6 separate regions of the Homo sapiens genome follow, and regions 1, 2, 4, 5 and 6 are each linked to region 3. The links are contacts of gene promoters, found by promoter capture Hi-C in blood cells and fetal thymus (Javierre and others, 2016). All regions are on one chromosome and are shown on one strand. Each heading gives the region's core, a stretch centred on a gene start or on the middle of the fragment in contact. The rest is flanking DNA. Distances are from core to core; before and after follow the strand shown. Region 1 overlaps UST (uronyl 2-sulfotransferase). Region 2 overlaps UST (uronyl 2-sulfotransferase). Region 3 holds the start of UST (uronyl 2-sulfotransferase). Region 4 has its middle 130 kb from the start of UST. Region 5 overlaps SASH1 (SAM and SH3 domain containing 1). Region 6 overlaps UST (uronyl 2-sulfotransferase).

The links. Contacts are between HindIII fragments. The CHiCAGO score rates a contact against its expected background, and 5 or more counts as called.
Region 1: a contact is called between a fragment that was not itself captured here and the fragment with the promoter of UST in region 3, in 7 of 17 cell types (total B cells, naive B cells, M1 macrophages and 4 more). The highest score is 13.4, in total B cells.
Region 2: a contact is called between a fragment that was not itself captured here and the fragment with the promoter of UST in region 3, in 2 of 17 cell types (naive B cells and total B cells). The highest score is 7.3, in naive B cells.
Region 4: a fragment that was not itself captured here is called in contact with the fragment with the promoter of UST in region 3 in 1 of 17 cell types (monocytes); the score reaches 6.1 in monocytes.
Region 5: a contact is called between a fragment that was not itself captured here and the fragment with the promoter of UST in region 3, in 2 of 17 cell types (naive B cells and monocytes). The highest score is 5.4, in naive B cells.
Region 6: a contact is called between a fragment that was not itself captured here and the fragment with the promoter of UST in region 3, in 4 of 17 cell types (total B cells, naive B cells, total CD8 T cells and 1 more). The highest score is 9.0, in total B cells.

The regions. Positions count from the first base shown.
Region 1 is chr6:148,996,658-148,999,793 of GRCh38, reverse strand. All of the region lies in intron 5 of UST (uronyl 2-sulfotransferase), which reads right to left. Among named protein-coding and RNA genes, the nearest start is that of UST-AS1, 34 kb to the right of the region's middle. The HindIII fragment of the contact is 287 bases long and covers 1,266-1,552 here.
Region 2 is chr6:148,885,498-148,888,521 of GRCh38, reverse strand. It overlaps UST (uronyl 2-sulfotransferase), which reads right to left. Exons shown (of 8, transcript NM_005715.3): 2 at 1,493-1,536. Among named protein-coding and RNA genes, the nearest start is that of UST-AS1, 78 kb to the left of the region's middle. The HindIII fragment of the contact is 5,578 bases long and covers 1-3,024 here.
Region 3 is chr6:148,745,667-148,748,536 of GRCh38, reverse strand. It overlaps UST (uronyl 2-sulfotransferase), which reads right to left and starts at 1,507. Exons shown (of 8, transcript NM_005715.3): 1 at 860-1,507. The coding sequence starts at 1,106. RefSeq lists enhancers at 1-370, 1,679-1,758, 1,819-1,878 and silencers at 549-718, 1,019-1,108. The HindIII fragment of the contact is 11,485 bases long and covers 1-2,870 here.
Region 4 is chr6:148,613,152-148,616,313 of GRCh38, reverse strand. No RefSeq gene overlaps it. Among named protein-coding and RNA genes, the nearest start is that of UST, 130 kb to the left of the region's middle. The HindIII fragment of the contact is 1,483 bases long and covers 737-2,219 here.
Region 5 is chr6:148,549,322-148,552,296 of GRCh38, reverse strand. It overlaps SASH1 (SAM and SH3 domain containing 1), which reads right to left. Exons shown (of 20, transcript NM_015278.5): 20 at 253-2,975. Among named protein-coding and RNA genes, the nearest start is that of UST, 200 kb to the left of the region's middle. The HindIII fragment of the contact is 3,763 bases long and covers 1-2,975 here.
Region 6 is chr6:148,976,136-148,979,084 of GRCh38, reverse strand. All of the region lies in intron 5 of UST (uronyl 2-sulfotransferase), which reads right to left. Among named protein-coding and RNA genes, the nearest start is that of UST-AS1, 13 kb to the right of the region's middle. The HindIII fragment of the contact is 5,795 bases long and covers 1-2,949 here.

The DNA.
Region 1 (3,136 bases), core at 160-2,659, 250 kb before region 3:
GCTGAGTGTAGAGGCATGGATAACCTGGGATGTAAGGAGTGAAACTTGCAAAGTTAGAGGAAAGAAGTTGAGTAAGATGTCAAGTCTGTGCCAAAGCAAGGTCACATGTTTAGAGAAACGTAATCATTTTTGCTCTATATGTCAGAGGGTAAAGGACAATGCACAGTTTAAGTCAGACATCAAACAGCATTATTCCTGAGGGTTCTTCTTACAGACCCTGTGAGACACTGTTACATCATAGCAGTGAGTTTGTCTTAATGGTGTTGCTTTGAGTCTATTATTAGTGTTGCATGTTGCCAAAAGTTCCAATATTTGAAGTATGCCATGAATATAAAAAGTTATAATCTTTGTTCTACATATTCTGTATCAGAATTATATTCTAACCTAGAAGATTTGCTTCTCTGTATTACGGTATCCACCCAGTGCCAGATAGGTGTTCTATTATAGTTTCTAAAAGTGGTCTTTGAAGATAATGAAATTTTTATTTGAATTATGCTATGCCTAGCAAATCACCATGGAAGTCTGGGTGTCTAATGAAAGATTTCAGATGATACTACTGTTTTTCAATAAACAACATCATAAAAATTTCACCAGTAAAGTCCAGAATACAAGTACCATTAAATTTTGAACAAAAAGTACTTAAGTGTTCATATAGATAAAGATATATCATTGTTGATACTTTTTCTTGCTAGATATCTGCATGACTGAAATGACATTATATGACCTATAAACTACTCCCTGCTGGAAAAGGTGCATTCCAGATGCGGGCTCCACTCAGAGGAATAATGACTTCGGGATTTTGCATCTTGGTTGTCTGTGATTCTCATCTCTACAGCCCAGAAGGAGCCACATGGCTGGATCTCTGCCACTGGCTGACTGCTGTGAGTGCTGCAAGTGCTGCCTTGGTTAACCAGGCATGCACCAGCCACCTGGGCTGCAGTGCTATGCTGCTTGCTGCATTCAGACCAGCACATACATGGCAGCAGCCTCGGCCTATAAGGGGCTGCGCTGATTATATTCTGAAGCATACAGTCAATGGGACTATCTATCCTTCTAATATTGACTCATCTTGAGATGCTGATGAAACTCTTAAAATAAGCAGGAGGTCGGGTTTATGGATGGGCCCGCATCCCTACCCGCTACTTAGCCACACAGAAAATGGAGAGATCACCATTGTGAGTTTTCTCTAGGAGGGGCAGTGTGATATTATATGAATGCACTGCCAGTGCATCCTATGGGGGCTACAATTTTGCTATTCTCAAGCTTAAAATAATCATGGAAATATATTTTAACTTTTTTGTGCTCTGCATGTAATACCAGAAGGAAAAGGTGTTTATAAAACGTAGGCCAGAGATCAGAAGGAATACGGCAGATTTTGGTGAAAAGTTGAATTATGAGGTGGAGACAAAAGAATCATTCACCTCAAATCTGTTCATTTCACCTGTTATAAGAAGCCCACAGCATAGTCCACGTCTCCACAGTTTAGTACTTCCTGGAGGCAGTACTGAACAGAAAACTCAAGCTCAAACATCTTCCCAGCCAAAATGAAGCTTTGTGACTGTAAGAATGGCAGGAATTCCTGAGAAACCAAGAATGTTCTTTAAGGGATTTATACCATAAAAGTTATTTATGGCCCCTTTGGGCCACACAAGTTTTGAAAAGCCACAGAAACTGTCTTAGCCTCAGAATTTTGATGATTTTGCCTTCTTAGCTGAAGAGGTTCAGAATTTCGTTTTCTTTCACATGCAATAGTCTAATAGTTTTGGCTTAAGAACGCAAAACAAACCACAAAAGTCACACTTTCAACCTCTGGTTATCCAGGGTATAAACAGCATGTTTGTGGATTATTTTTTAGGCCAGCCCACAGCTTCTCCTTTCTGTGCTCCATGATCCTGACTTAGAAGGTCATTAAGGACTCGTAATAAGTTCAATAAAGAGATGCTGAACCTAAATAAAATAATTATTTTAAATTAACAGGGAACTTCGGTTTCTCAAGATCCTAGTATCATGAGTGACTAAGAATTGTCTGTGAAATGGAGCTTCACTGGACTATTCTCTTTTGTGAGTATTTAAAATTTTCCATAATGTTATAAAAAGCAAACAAAAAAATCCCAGAAAAAATAAATGACTATTAGTATAGTGTGTTCCCCAGTGTCTGTTCTCATCTTCAGAGGATATGAACTGGGGTTTATGTTGGTTCACTAAATGTATATATCCTAAGATGTACCTGCATATAATAAAAATATTAGAGAACATTCTGTAAGGAAGCTCAATTTTTTCCTGCCTTCATTTTCCCTTTTTCTAATTCATTTTTTCATTCATCCATTCATTCACTCATTCATTTTCCATCTGTCTCACTCTAAAGCTTCTTGGACTGTGTTTTCAGTGGGTCAGGTTCTTTATGAATCCTCAGACCTTTATAATTTTCCATCCTAAGTTTGCTTAGAGATCTCATTTCTGACCCTTTCATTGGTCCTGCTTCCTGGATTCTTTCTCTTCTAAAATAAAACATGACTACATGGAATCCAAGAAAAAAAGCTACGAAATCAAGCCCCTTTATTATGCTGGTATTTGAGATTTCTCTCACAGCTTTCTTATAGAATGTTCCCTATTTTTATTATATGCAGGTACATCTTAGGATATATACATTTAGTGAACCAACATAAACCCCAGTTCATATCCTCTGAAGATGAGAACAGACACGGGGACTCCAAAAGCAGGGAGGGAGACAGCAAAGGCTGCAAGCCTTCCTACTGGGTACTATGTTCATTATCTGGTGCCAAGATCAACAGAAGCTCAAACACATGCAATACACCCTTGCAACAAACCTCCACATATACAACCTGAATCTAAAATAAAAATTCTAATTAAAAACATAAAAAATAAAGGCTGTGTTATAATAGCATTTTTTTCTCTTATTACTCTTTCCTTTCTCTTATTGATATTCCCTCCCCTTTTTAGGTTAACTACCCATGAATCAGACCAAGGCTGTATAAACACACAAAAAATTCAAGTCACTAGAATAACTTCTACACACATAAGTACTGAAATGAAGAACTACTAAAACAGAATTTCCCAGATCTATCTTTCCTCAAGTTGAGAACCAAAGCCAAAGAAAAGCAAATATACACTCAAG
Region 2 (3,024 bases), core at 129-2,628, 140 kb before region 3:
TATTAAGTAATTCATCCACTGTCACACAGCTAGAAAGTGGCAGCGTCAGTGTTGAATCCAGAAATATCTTCTTCCAAAGTTCATGCTCATGAATGTGGGGGTGGTCTAAACATACTTTGGGGCTGATTTGTTTGGATCTGTGTCCCCACCCAAATCTCATGTCTAATTGTCATCCCCAGTGTCGGAGTGGCCTGGTGGGAGGTGACTGGATCATGAGGGTGGATTTTCAGGGTTTAGCACTATCCCCCTTGGTGCTGTCATGGCGACAGTGAGTTCCTGTGAGATCTGGTTGTTTAAAAGTGTGTGGTACCTCCCCCAATCCCTCTTGTTCCTGCTCTGGCCACGTAAGATGCGCCTGCTTCCTCTCTGCCTTCCACCATGATTGAAAGTTTCCTGAAGCCTCCCCAGAAGCTGAGTAGATGCCTCTATCATGCTTCCTATACAGCCTGTGGAATTTTTTAAATTACCCAGTCTCGGGTATTTCTTTATAGCAATGCAGGAATGGACTAATACAGGAGTAAATTTCCCCAAAGCCTCTAAGGTTGGGGGTTCATTATCTTCTCACCGTGTATTTACAACTGCATTTTGTAGGCATCACCTTAAGTGGTCAAAGACTAAGAAAACAACCAAGTACAGGGAGAGCTAGAGTGCTTGTATCTACACTTTAAGATTTCACAGGCCAGAAAGAACATTCTTGAAGTGACAGATAGAGGGTTGCCAACTTCTTATTTTGCCAAGCACAACCCCTTCCCAAGTACTGATCAACAATCCCCATCATTTCCTAGAAGGAAAAAAAATGATGTCAAAAAAGTACAAGGGACATACGGTTAGAATAAAGGGTAATTGCATTGCATGTATTTTCTTATATACAATGATCAATTTGTTCTAGTTTGCTCACTTTTCAGTAGATTAGCATTCGGTTTTCATTGAGCTCAAGAAAGTAAACAGTGTTAGGGAAACTATACTAAAGGATTATTCTGCCCCTTAAGTCAGACAAAACTGCTTACAGGAAAAACAAAAGTGGACTCACAGGCCAGGCCAGGGCAGCCTTGAGGTGGTATTGGCAGGGCCTCAAGTGGAGTATCCCAACCCAGTTAGGCTGGAGAGAACAGGACAGATGTGAGTCTAGCCCCAAAGCCCGAAGGCATGGGGAGGCCGGGTGTGGCTATCACACTGTGGGCCAGCATCGATGCCAAGGCAAATGAAAATGAGGTGCAAACAGGAGAAGCTGCCAGAGGTCTGAAGTCAGTCTCAGGCTCCAATGCCTGGGCAGCAACAGCCACTGATTCAACAATGGCTCCTTCTCCCTGTCATCTGGGCTATCATCATGCTTTTCTGCTTCCTCCTTGTTAGAAGTTAAACATCAATTTCACATATGTCATCTACTGTTTCTTGTGAATGATTCGTGTCCAGGAGAGATCTGTTCTGCTTGTTGGAGGCTGTAAGTAAGATAAAAGAAAAAGGGGACTTATATCACAAGCAAAGATCTTACCTTACTAGGAGGTGGTCCATGGTCATCCAAGTAAGTGGAATTTCCTAGAAAATAAAGGAAAAAGTTGATGAATCCGTTTTTTAAATCCCAAATGAATTTAGTGCAAAGTTATTGAAGATAAGCATTCTAGTTATACAGTATTTCTGCTCAGACAACAGTACCAAAGAAAAATGGGGAATTAATCACTGGTTTGACTGGATTTTGCTGATATTACTATGTTTGATTAATAGTTTCAGCTGTTACAAACATTCTACATACATGGTTATGTATGCACACAAACATACATAACACACACAGTAACACGCACCATTATTCTCACCCATTATCTGCTGAGTTTAGCTTAGACCATTGGTACTCAAATGTTATTGTACTTCAGAATTACCCGCAGGGCTTGTTGAAACAAGACTGCCCAGCCCCAGTCTGAGAACCTGCATTTCTAACCAGTTCCCAAGAGATACTGATGCTGCCGGTCCTGAACCCCATACTCTCTTTCTCCAATTTGTCTTAAAATTGTCTGTTTCTCTTCTCTCTTCAGGCTAGCTTGCTTCCGGAGCTTGATTTGTCTTCACTAATAGCCATTTACTGGCATGTGTGTATTCAGAGTGCACGGCTATTGTTTCCTGATGAATAAAAGACTCAGAGGGATTTGGAAGGGAATTAAAGTTTACTGACTTCCTTTCAGTAGCAGCTACTCTGCTAAGTGCTTTACAGGTATTTATCTATTTAATGCAAATACCAGAGATGGATTAGAAGTGTCCCCTTTTAACAGAGGAGAGAACAGAGGCCTGGAGAAACTCAGTAACCTATGCACAGTCACACAGCTGGTAAACTGCAGAGAGGAGAGAAGACTGGTTTTTCCAGAGCATGTTCAGGCATCTACCCATCTGAAAAGCCTACCTAGAGTCCTTCCTGCCATCTCAGGCTTCTGTGTGAGGCAGGCACTGTAAACATTACCATCTGGAGACATCTGATCACCTGGGGAGCCAAAGATGCAATCAGTATAATCGAAGGCGCCTATCCAAGAGGGGTAACTCTTGTGAGTCTAGGGAAAATCATCTCACCAGAAAAGTAAAAATGACCAAACAAGCTAATGGAATGAAATGTAGAAAATCATGGAACGGAACTGCAAGAATACCTCTAGAGAACAGTAGATGATTGGGGGATAAGGTCAGTGTCTTAGTCTGAGTGGATGAAAGGTGCTTTTGACAGCAGAGAGCAAAAATGACTTAAGAAACTGGACTAAGAAGGGGGAAGCAGGGCTTAAGCCAGGGACAGTTGAACTGGGGAAATGTATCCAAACATAATAAATAAGCGGGTTCTGGCTTATAGGTTTTTCCATACTGAGTCATCATCCTTCCCCTTTTCTTTGTCATCTTCTGATTTATAGCCCACTTGGTGTTCACAGTGGCCATTTGTATATAGTAAAGGAACATCAGGGTCCAGTTTTAGTGTATAAGACACTTAAACACAAACACCCAGCATGCCCATGATTGGGCTATTTTAGGACCCTTTTAAATGTGAACATGATGAAC
Region 3 (2,870 bases), core at 258-2,757:
CTTCTCGCTGGAGCGGCTCTTTCCCTCCCGTCAAACCCCTTCCTTACTTCTGCTAAAGACAGGCGGCCTCTCTCCTAATAAACCACACACACACACACACACACACACACACACACACACACACACACACACACACAAGTTTTGACTTGAGCTTGAGACGCACACAGCGCCGAGGATCCTCGGGTTACTGGGGGCGACACTGCTGGCCAGGCTGACCAGCGCCCTCGGGCATCCCCAAACCCCTGGATGCAACCCGTTCCCCGCGCCAGGCTAGCTGCGGGCGGCGGGGTGGGCAGCGGCAGCCAAGGGACAAGCCAGCCCGGGGACAGCGCGGAGCCACTAGGGCCGGCGGGCAGGCGGGGGATCTGCGGGACAGAATTCTCAGAGCGGACGGTGGCAAAGGGCTAAACCCACCCACACTCCCCGGGGCGCGGGACGGGACTGAACTGCGGTCACTAACAATGCAACGAAGAGGACCTTCCCTTCCCTTCGCCACTCCCCGCGCCGCCAGGCCTGAAGATACACACACTCCGGCACACCCCACACACCCATCCACTCCGCCCCAGTCCGGATCCGGGTGGCGGAGGTGGGGCGGGGGGAAGGTGAGCGGTGCCTCGCCCCGGGGTACCTGCCGGCAGCGCAACCCAGCGGCGCCCCCGCCTCGGTGAGGACAGTCGGACGCGCGGGAGGAAGAAGGCGCTCCCGACCGCGGCACAGATGCTCACGGGCTTAGCACCTGGAGAGACCCGGGGCGGCGGCGGCGCGCGGTGGCAGCGCGAGAAGTCCCCGCCGCGACCCTCTCCCCGCCGCACAACTTTGCGCTGTCGGCGCCGCCCTAGCGCCTGCCCAGCTTCCTTACCCAAGTACTGCCGCAGGTCGAGCAGGAAGCGAGGGGGTCCCCCGCTGAGCTGATAGAGGAGGGAGCCCAGGCAGAAGACCAGCAGGGTGGCCATGCAGAAGCCGTAGTCCCGGAGGGAGAAGCGCAGGAAAGGCAGCAGGGGCACCCGACGCTTCCAGCTGCCCAGGCCCGGAGGGGCGCCCCCCATAGGGGCCCCATGGGGCCAGGGATCCGCGCCGCCGCCGGGATGCTGCTGCTTCTTCTTCATCGCCTGCTCCGCTGCCTCCCACAGCCTGCCCGTGCCAGGAAAAGGTCACCCATCCGCCGCGAGGAGGAGAGCCCGGCTGGCCGGCTGCACATGGGGAGGGCCGCGCGGAGGGCAGCCGGGTGGGGGCGGGGAGGGGCCGAAGTTGCCGGGCTCAGGAGACTTTCTTCGGCATGGTCCCCGCCGCCGCGGCCCGAGCGGCCGAGGTGTCCGGCCCCGGTTCGGGGCGCTGCCCGTGACGGGGCGCCGCGCCCGTCCGGCGCCCGCTAGCGTCCCCACGCCCCGCGCCCCGCCGCGCCTCGGGCTCGCTTGCGGCCGCCGGGGCTCGCCTCCAGCGCCAGCGTGGACCCCCCGGCTTTGTGTCTGTAGGTCTCGGCGTGTTTTGTCCCGGTTCAGGCTTCTCTAAAAAACGGCAGGGAGGAACAGGAGGCGGACACCATCCCCTCGCTCCACCTCCTTGACAGGGGTTTTCCTCCTTCTCCTCCCCTTTCTCCCTCCGGCGCTCCGCAGCACTCTCCTCCCTCTCCCCTCCCTCTCCGCTCGGGTCTCGGGATTTCGCTCGGGTGTCACGTTACTGCTTCTGCTGGGGGCGGAGGGGGGGAGGCGGCGATTATTCGCAACAAGGAAGAAAGTTTCTGGGTGTTTTCTTTTTTTTTCCTTCCCCCGTTCTTTACAATCTGGATGCGGTTCCTGCGCCACCAGCGACCTCTTGGGGGCCCCGCTGACTTCCCTCTTGTAAACAGTCACCGGCAGGAAGAAGCACGACTGACTTTACTATTTACATTTTTTTCAGTTCAGAAAGTTGATTCTCCTTATATACCCCGTGCGAGCTGCTTACCCAAGGCTGATAAAAGGTACTAGAATACAGGCTCAAGACTTTGCTGAAATGGGAAAAGAGCAAGCGGTGCGAGTTATGGTCAAACACGCCCCAGAGGGCCAGGCGCAGCGCCTGAACTCCCGGGTAGGGTAGCCGAAGAGGACGCTCTGTTCTTGCTTTTCCTGGTCCTACAACTGCTCCACCTCGCAGTGCCCAGAGAGGCAAGTGGGGGGTGCATAGCGGACTCTAGGAGGTCATTGCCCTGCAGACATGAAGGGGAAAGAGCCCAGTCCGCCTATACGCTGATTTCATTGCTGCCTCTCTTCCCTCCACGGGAAAGCCTCTGGACCTGAAAGAACCTCCTGGGGCAGAAAAGGCTCAATCCTAGACATAGATCCTCTGATGGGGTGGTTGATCCACGGAAGGGCTGCTCTGATCAGCCACACTTTAAGTAAGAATACTATATCACTATTTATAGAAGCTGTAGCACCTGAGGGCTGTGTGACTCACCCGAGGTCCCAAAGCTAGTAGTAGGAGTTGGGTTGGGAGTTGCACTCAAATCTATTTGACCCTCAGACCCACTATACTAACCACTGCACAGCAGTACTTCCCAGCCAGAGCCCTTTTCCTTCACGTCCCATAGGAGGATGAGATTTAATTCATTTAGTTCAGGCCACATTGAGAAATGGAAACCTCAGTTTCTGGTGCCTATCATTTCTGGCTCCCTACTCATTTGTATATTCCAGTAATGAACAATTGGATTTAAGAAGGAACCAGGAGCCAAGAACCTCTATGATTCTAAGACTAGGCTCCTGAAAACCTTCATCAAGTTAGGCATCTGAAGAATATTCTGTGGAAAATTACAAAATATTATCCTAGACAAAGAACTTACTCGTTAAGAATATGTCTTAACCTCAGCTACTCAGGAGGCTGAGGCAGGAGAATCGTGT
Region 4 (3,162 bases), core at 229-2,728, 130 kb after region 3:
GACCCCAGAAGCAAATCAGTAATGGAGTCCCAAATTAACCTTGTCTTTTTGATTCAGTATGAGCTGGGCCCATTGGAATTACTGTCAACCAAGGCCCCCTGGCAAAGACAGGCCCTAACTCAGATCTGGGAGGCAAAGTTAAGACCAGAGGTCTCCCAAGCTTAGGGCTGGCCTACATTAATTGCTTGCTTAAATCTTCATTCTTTACATGTTCTTCTTCTTCTGCTCTGTTCCCTGGACACTCGTGAGGCATTGGAAATTGTACAGCAAGCAAGAACCTGTAGAGAAAAGGGACAAGGAGCCGTGGGAATAAAGTGGCCAACCACAAAATGATCATGATACTTGATGACAAAGGAAAAGGGACAGCTCTACAGGAGATGAAAGAAGATTCCATCCAAGCTGTGGAAACCTTATGAGCAAGAGGAAAGTCTGTGAATACAAGAAATATGGCAAGCCTGAAGCCATATCTGACACATGGAAAGTGGCCATGGCAGGCCCACAGTGGCCGAGTGGCATCCAACTGGCCAGGCTTCACTCACTCAGTCTCAGCAGCCCTGCCAGGACCACGGAAGGTGGCTAAGGATGGCTCTCCAATCAAAGCTCACTGGATTGTCAAGAAATAGAAACCCACTGAAGCTAGCTCAACTGCAGAGGAGATTTATGACACTGAGATGCGTCTTGGAATCTAAGGTTGGTAAACAAGATACAAACCCTGACTTCTAGGATCTGCAAAGCTTCCAGGAATAAAATTTCCATTTGTCTGTGCCAGTGTGGCCTCTTCTCTTGACTTCTCACTCTATGCTTCCTCCACCCCCTTCTCTCCACAGGTTCATTTCCTCATCAGGCTCCATGATATTCAAAATGCTCACTCTAAGTCTGAGGTTCCCATGACTTTCCTGCTTCTAAGCGCTCTTGACTGATCAAAGTCTCTGTATAAAATAGTTTGAATTTTGAGAAAATGAAAGAAGGAGAATTAATTCTTCCTGGGAGACTTGGTAAAATCTTCAAAGGAGCTGATTTACTGCTATGCTTGGAAAAACATACTGAGTTTTTACAATAGATAAGCATGGAACAGCCTTTTTTCAAAGCATTTTGATATTTGAATCTCCCAACAGTGCCATGAAGTATGTTGAGCAGATTATTTATATTATATAAAAGAGAAAACTAAGTCCTACAAAAGGTAAATTAATTGACCAAGGCCATGTAGCCAGTGTGGGATAAATTCCAGACTAGATCCAAAGTTTTCTGACTTTTAATTCACTGCTTTTTCTATTTGTTCATGTGTAGACATGAAAGAATGGGTCTCTTTCATTGCCACTGATAAAATAAAAACTTCAGCTGAATTAAATTTAAAAGAGTTCAATTGAGCAATGAAAGATTTGTGAATTGGGCAGCCTCCTGACCCAGAGTATGCTCAGAGACTCCAGTGCAACCATGTGGTGGAAGACAATTTATGGACAGAAAAAGGAAAATGATGTACGGAAAAGGGAAGTGAGGTACAGAAACAGCCAGATTGATTACAGTACACCGTTTGCCTTATTTGAACATGGTTAGAACAGTCAGCTACATTTGATTGGCCAAAACTCCATGATTGGCACAAGTGTGGGCTACGGTCTGTGTACACCTCCATTTGTTATAGTTCATGATGCACAGAGAAACCTTTAGGCTGAACTTAAAACATTGTCAGGAGGCAGCTTTAGGCTAAACTTGATTTAATACTATCAATAGCCCTAGAACTGGGACTGATACTACTATAATTTTAACTTGCCTTTCTCAAGTTCAATCTCTGTCACCTCCTTTGCAAAAACTCATATATTTGTAGAACATATCTGTCCAACTCATGATGGGAAACCAATGCCATATTTAAACAATTTGATTTGGGAAGAGTTTAATAAAGAGATTATTTAGAGGTGCAGGCAGGGTTTAGGGGAACCAACAAAGAATAGTGCAGGATTCCCAAACTGGCAACAGCACAGATCCATCATCACTACCCCTTGGTCTGAGGGGCAAAATGAGAGCCGAGTCACCAGAACATCGAGAGGGTAGCACGGAGAAGTCACCTGGTAAAAGCTGTGGCTTTCACAGAAGGACGCAGCCAACCCCTGCCAACAACCACCCTCTCTTCCAGCTTTCAGAACTCCTGCCAGTGGGCCCACTGATTCATTGGCTGATTCCACTGGAAGCCAGAGGGTATGGGGAATCCTTGTTGACATTAAGCTTCCTAAGGCAATAGAGAGAAACTGAGGCTGGAGAGGCAAATGACAAACATCCAGTACAGGGAATAAGGGGAGAAATTCAACATGGGAGGCCAGGCGTGGTTTCTGATCTGTTTTGTGTCACTCTCCTTTCTCACCCACACAGGCCTCTAAAACTGCACTAACACATGCATACACACACGTGCACACACACCCCATTCTCCTTCTCCTTTCCTCTTGCTGTTTCCTTTTATATTTTGGAAATCTGACCATTCAAGTCAGTGCCCTGGGTTTTCAGCCAGGAATCCACTCCAGGTCAATGGAGCCAAATCAACTGGTCTCTTGGTCATTGCAAGTCCTGAACTGAACTTGAGGATGCATGCCTGCCAAGGTGAAGGATGAGTTGCAAAGGAAGCACTTATATAATTCTATAGTATTCCAAACCCCGTCCTTTTCAAGACCTTCTTGGTATTGTCAGAGTGGCAGCTCTATGGGATCATTTTGAGGAAAACATCTTGGCGATCCAGACTGAGGTTTTTCATAAGCTCTGGCTGGGTGAGCCAGTGACACCATTGTGGACCAGCTGCAACCAATCTGCTGTCTTCCATGCCAGGCCGAGGGGCTAAGGTGGGCCAATCTGAATTTGTTATGACAGATCAGTGCATCACAACAGTCAAAAGAATGCTCTTAGAGGGCACAACCTGGAAATATTATCTTTCTTCTTCTTTTCTTTTTTGTCTGTTAATGTAACTGGGCATCCAAAAGTTTGTTTTTGTGGATAAGTAATTCCTTGATTTATTTTGCTAACGAATGAAGTTTGCCTTAATTTCCACTTCTGAAAATTTCATAGAGAGATGAATTATATTTGTGACCTTATCCAGTGACATTTTTCCTCTCAGAGTCTTGATAGGAAAGGCAATTTTATTATAAGATAGAAAAGTGACAGTTTAAAAGGGATGGGAAGGTA
Region 5 (2,975 bases), core at 6-2,505, 200 kb after region 3:
ATGACTTCCAAAAAATATCTTGCTGGTCTAAGGTGCTATCATTATATGACTCGATTATGCATATTTGAAAATAAAGCAATAAAGTGGCAAAGAGAATCTGGGTGGATGTCAGAGGGTGAGTTCTGGTGATGGCAGAATTGCAGACAACTACAATTTTCCCAGTATATTTCATTATTTGACCACTTTATAAATTCCTTTTCATTTCTACTCCATTCATCTTTAAAATACCCAAGAAACAACAAAAAAGGCATATTCAACTGAAGAAATTTATTTACTTTTTTCTAGGTACATAGATGACATAATTATAGACAAGTTTTGATACATAGGAAAACCCTTCCGTCCACCTCTCTTTATGCTAAATGAATCATCACAATAATTTTTACAATTTTTAAAACAATACACAGCTTTCTTGGGCTGAAGCAATTGCAAGAACATATTGGTACTGGTATATTACAGCTACTTACAATGTTTTTAAGAACAGCAATGGAGAAAAATAAGTTATTTAAATATTGATTTCATATACAGAAAGTGCAATGTTGTTAGTTGTTATATAACTTGCTCGACAGTTTCTTTTCTCTATCAATTTTAAATCAAGATAACTTGGACTCAGACTATTATATTTTTTTCTGAAAATAATACAGTACACACATGGCAGCAGTGACTTGGCAAGTTGACCTTTTTTGCTGCAGTTATGAAAGCAAACTTTACTATGTCAGGAACTGATTTCCAATAGATTAGTAATTTCCAATTTCACCCATACCTGGGGGTTCAGGACAGAGAAAAGGGCCTCTGACTAAGGCAAGGCCATGAAACAATATCTTAGTTATCTGGGTACATAAATAGTACTAGCTGGAGCTGACTGCATTTCCTTCCAGACAGCTTTGAAGTGAAAATCATACACAATGTTATGTGTAGCTACCTGAGCCGAACTGCCTTTCCAGGTTTCTTTTGTGCTTTCCAAAGACAACAATTTTCACCATTACTCAAAATTCTGTACCAAATGCAACTGATTAAAACTGGATATTCCTGAAGCCTACCACCTGTTCACTAATGTCCACAGGCAGCCCCAATCCACCTCAGTCAAACGTCACACCCAAACATTCAGCTTTTCTCAGACCAAATTAAATGTTTACAGAAAAAAAAAAGACCAAACGCTAAAGATATTTTTAAAATATTTAAACAACACAATAAAGTAAAAACAACCTCAGACCCCTCAGACTAGACATTCCCACTGAAAATTCTTTGTGGTCCCTGAATTTGATTTTCTATGCAAAGGCATTGATTTCCAAAGAAGTGTGATAAAAATGTGGTTTGGCATTCTCAAAAACTCCAGAAAGTTCCCTCTTCTGCTGCGACTTTCACTGAAATGAAAATCCTTCATGGAGAACGAATTAAAACTTGGAAATTCACATGAGATTTCTCTCGCTCCTTTGTTATCTCATCTCTTACACAACTTTTGTGTGGTTTTTTGCTCAGCTTAAACAATGACAGGATCTGTCCAAATGTCAAGCCGAGGTATTTTGAGAGCAGGAAGAGAAGAAGCCTGTCTACAGCACCCACATCCACCACAGCACGTGAAATGCATTGAACGCTTTAGCTATACAAGAACCCTGCAGCTTCATTACATTGCAAATAGGCTAGGCCACAACCCGAGAGGACAAACAAACATGAGCTGTTTTTAAGAGTTCAACAGAAATTTGGCAGCTTTAGCTTTTTATTCTACATTTCCACAACTTCTTCACATGGCATCTTATAGAAGATGAAAATTAATTATTAAAGAAACATGCATTATTTTTTAAAAATGCATACTAATGCATGAAAAAAATACATCACCTGAGAATGTCTTTTTCCTCAGAAACATGGATCCAGACATAAGCAATATGCTAAAGATGGCTTTCTAATTAATTTATGAAATCACTTCCCCTCCAACCCAAGGGAAATTATTTGTTTTAATAAGTAGATGAAATATTATAAAATGTTCAATCAAGGGCTTGTGGTCAAGGTGTTTCTATTATAAATGATTGACCTTTATATTTTAGATGATTGCATTTGATGCTTAAAATAGTGTTCATGATAAGAATGTAAAGGAAAATCATTTTGTAAGCAATGGAAACCATAATAGTTTACTTGTTTAAATTTACTGTTTGCTAGAAAACCAGACACTAGACTAAAAGAGGACAGAGGCCAGGTGCGGTGGCTCACACCTGTAATCCCAGCACTTTGGGAGGCTGAGGCGGGTGGACCACCTGAGGTCAGGAGTTGAGTTTGAGACCAGCCTGGCCAACATGGTGAAACCCTGTCTCTACTAATAATACAAAAATTAGCTGGGCGTGGTGGTGGGTGCCTATAATCCCAGCTACTCGGGAGGCTAAGGCAGGAGAATCACTTGAACCTGGGAGACTGAGGTTGCAGTGAGCCAAGATCGTGCCATTGCACTCCAGCCTGGGTGACAAGAGCGAAACTCCATTTCAAAAAAAAAAAAGGATAGAATGTGCTGAAATCAGTTGTAAAACAATTTAAAGTAGCAAATACTTAACACATGGCTAATGAGATTTGTCTGGTTCCATAGTGAACCTTTGTTTAAATTAAAAGAATTATCTAAATAAAAAAAGAAGGATAATAATAGTATTAGTTGTAATACTGAAAAGTCTTTTAGAAAACATCTTATACATGACTTCCCTTATTAAGGACATCTTTCTGAAATATGCAGCCTCACAGTGACCTTTTGCAAACATGATCCGTTAACTGAGGACTGAATTTTGGGATGGACATGGTCAGGATTCCAAGTCAATACTGCAGCGCGACGATCCACACAGTAACGATACTAAACTGGTTAAAACCAAAAGCAGTCACTATGAATACAGACACACACGCGCACGCACGCACGCACACACATGATATTTGTGAATTTCAGATAGCTTTTTACTAGATTTGTAGTTAGCTTAAAAACCAAAAACCAACATGAAGTGTGTGGC
Region 6 (2,949 bases), core at 232-2,731, 230 kb before region 3:
GTGCATGCGGGGCCGAGGGGTGTTAATATGATAATCTTTGTCTTTTTCCTTAGGTTTTTCTATTACTAGTTGTTGAGACTGATGCTGCTTATATTCTCCCTGAGATGAAATCCCAAAGGATCTGGATCCTAGACATCATACTCTAGTAGAATAAAAGTAGAAATGAGCGAAATTTGGCAATTAGCAATTTAACTTTTACTTCAATTATCTGACTTCTATGAGAAACCAATTTTTTTTTAAAAAAATTTTTACCTTAAGTTCTGGAATACATATGCTGAACGTGCAGGTTTGTTACACAGGTATACACGTCCCATGGTGGTTTGCTGCAACTATCAACCTGTCATCTAGGTTTTAAGCCCCGCATGTATTAGGTATTTGTCCTAATGCTCTCCCTCCCCTTTCCCCCCAACCCCTGACAGGCCCCGGTGTGTGATGTTCCCCTCCCTGTGTCCATGTGTTCTCATTGTTCAACTCCCACTTATGAGTGAGAACATGCGGTGTTTGGTTTTCTGTTCTTGTGTTAGTTTGCTGAGGATGATGGTTTCCAGCTTCATCCATGTCCCTGCAAAGGACATGAACTCATTCTTTTTTATGGCTGCATAGTATTCCACGGTATATATGTGCCACATTTTCTTTATCTAGTCTGTCACTGATGGGCATTTGGGTTAGTTCCAAGTCTTTGCTATTATAAACAATGCTGCAATAAACACACATGTGCATGTGTCTTTACAGCCTATGTAAAGACTATATACTATAAAATGTATGTGATGTATAATCCTTTGGGTATATACCCAGTAATGGGATTGCTGGGTCATTTTTATCAACATTATATTTAACACTGTTCTAGAGATACAACAAAAACAAATGGATAAGAGTTATAAAAACTAGAAAAAAGAAAGATAAAATTATCACCTGGGGATATAATTTTATCTGGTAAACTGAAAATAATCTGTGAAAATTTCTTGACAAACATAGAATTCACTTACTAAGGTGACTGAGTTAAAGGTAATATATAGAAATTAGTAACAGTAATAATATGTAAAATTACAACAACAACAAACCAAATATCTAGAAATCAACTTAAGAAATGTGCAAGATCTAAATGAAGAAAACTTTAAAACTCTGGAGAGATATAACAGAAGTTCTGAGCAAATGGAAAGGCAAAATACATTCTCAAATAATAAGACTCCACATACAGACGTCAATCCTCCCTACCTTAATCTAAAGCTCAAAGTAAACCCAACACACAGGGTATTCTGGGTATGAATGTGGGGTGGGGGTAGCGGACGGCTGAACAAGCTGATTTTCTTTTCTTTTTTTTTTTTTTTTTTTTGAGACAGATTCTCACTCTGTCATCCAGGCTGGAGTACAGTGGCGCGATCTTGGCTCACTGCAAGCTCCACCTCCCGAGTTCACACCATTCTCCTGCCTCAGCCTCCCGAGTAGCTGGGACTACTGGCACCCGCCACCTCGTCCGGCTAATTTTTTTGTATCTTTAGTAGAGACGGGGTTTCACCATGTTAGCCAGGATGGGCTCGATCTCCTGACCTCATGATCCGCCCGCCCTGGCCTCCCAAAGTGCCGGGATTACAGGCGTGAGCCACCACGCCCGACCCTGAACAAGCTGATTTTAAAGTTCCTAAGGAAAAATGAACAAAGACAAAGACCTAGGACAATTGGGGAAAAAGCTGAGTAAAGAGGAAAGACTGGACCCTGCCAGATAATAAAATGTATATATAAATAGTCACTCTATATTATATAATTATACTATTGCATATTACATAATAAAACTATGTATTATGTAATTATACAATAGGTTACAACAGTGTGTATATATATAAATATATAGAATAGTGTTCTGTATATAAAGATACACATTAATGGAACAAAATAAAAGCCAAAAGAAAAAACAGATCCCTCTAAAACCAAGAATTTCTCATATAATAAAGGTGATACTTTAATGAGGAAAACACAAATTATTGTATAAATGGGATAGTTTGTTAGCCATCTGGAAAAAAAAGAAACTACATTGATATGTTATACCTGACACCAGAATAAATTTCAGAAGTATTAAAGATTTTAATTTAACATGAATAACAACAAAACTCTAGAAGACACCATGGAGAATATTTTTTATAGTTTCAGAGTTAATAAGATCCTTCTGAGTATAACACAAAACTCAGAAGCCATAAAAAGAAAAAGGTTGATAAATTTGACCACAAAGAAATAAAATTCTGCATGTAAAAAACATCACAAAGAAAGTTAAAAGAGATTACTAACTAGGAAAACAATACTTGCAATTTATATCAAAAATAGTGGGCAAATTTCTGTAATTTTCTGAAAAGTTTCTAGAGATCAGAATGTTAGCAAAATGGGCAATGATAAGATGAGAAAGGAAAATACAAATGCCTCTTAAACATGTGAGAAGATGCTCAACTTCACTCATAACGAGAGAAATGCAACTTATCCTACTGACACATAATTTCTCATCTCTCAGCCTGGCAAAGATAAAAACGTATGATGACATGGTGTGCAGGTGAAGGGCGGAGGAATTGAATGATGCACAAGATGGACCACGCTCCCGGAATCCTGATACCAGAAATACATGGACATGTCCATTCTGATGTACCCTTGACAGCAGAGTATGAATTGGAAATGTGCTGGAGCCAGATAGTAACAGCTTATAAGAGGCAAATGCCCATCTCTTAACTCTGCTGTATTCAGTGATGTCATGTTCGTAGTTTGAAATCACCATGGTGAGAAGTATTGACACCACAGAAATTGGCAAAGTTACAAAACAACCCCCCACCCCCGCCAGAGGTGGTTATTAAACATTTATGAGCATACCACTACTTATAATTTCTGAAGTCTCTGCCAGTTTAATACCTTAAAAGTGACATATTGCTTTAATTTGCAGTTCAAAAATTATAGATGAGGCTGAGCATTTTT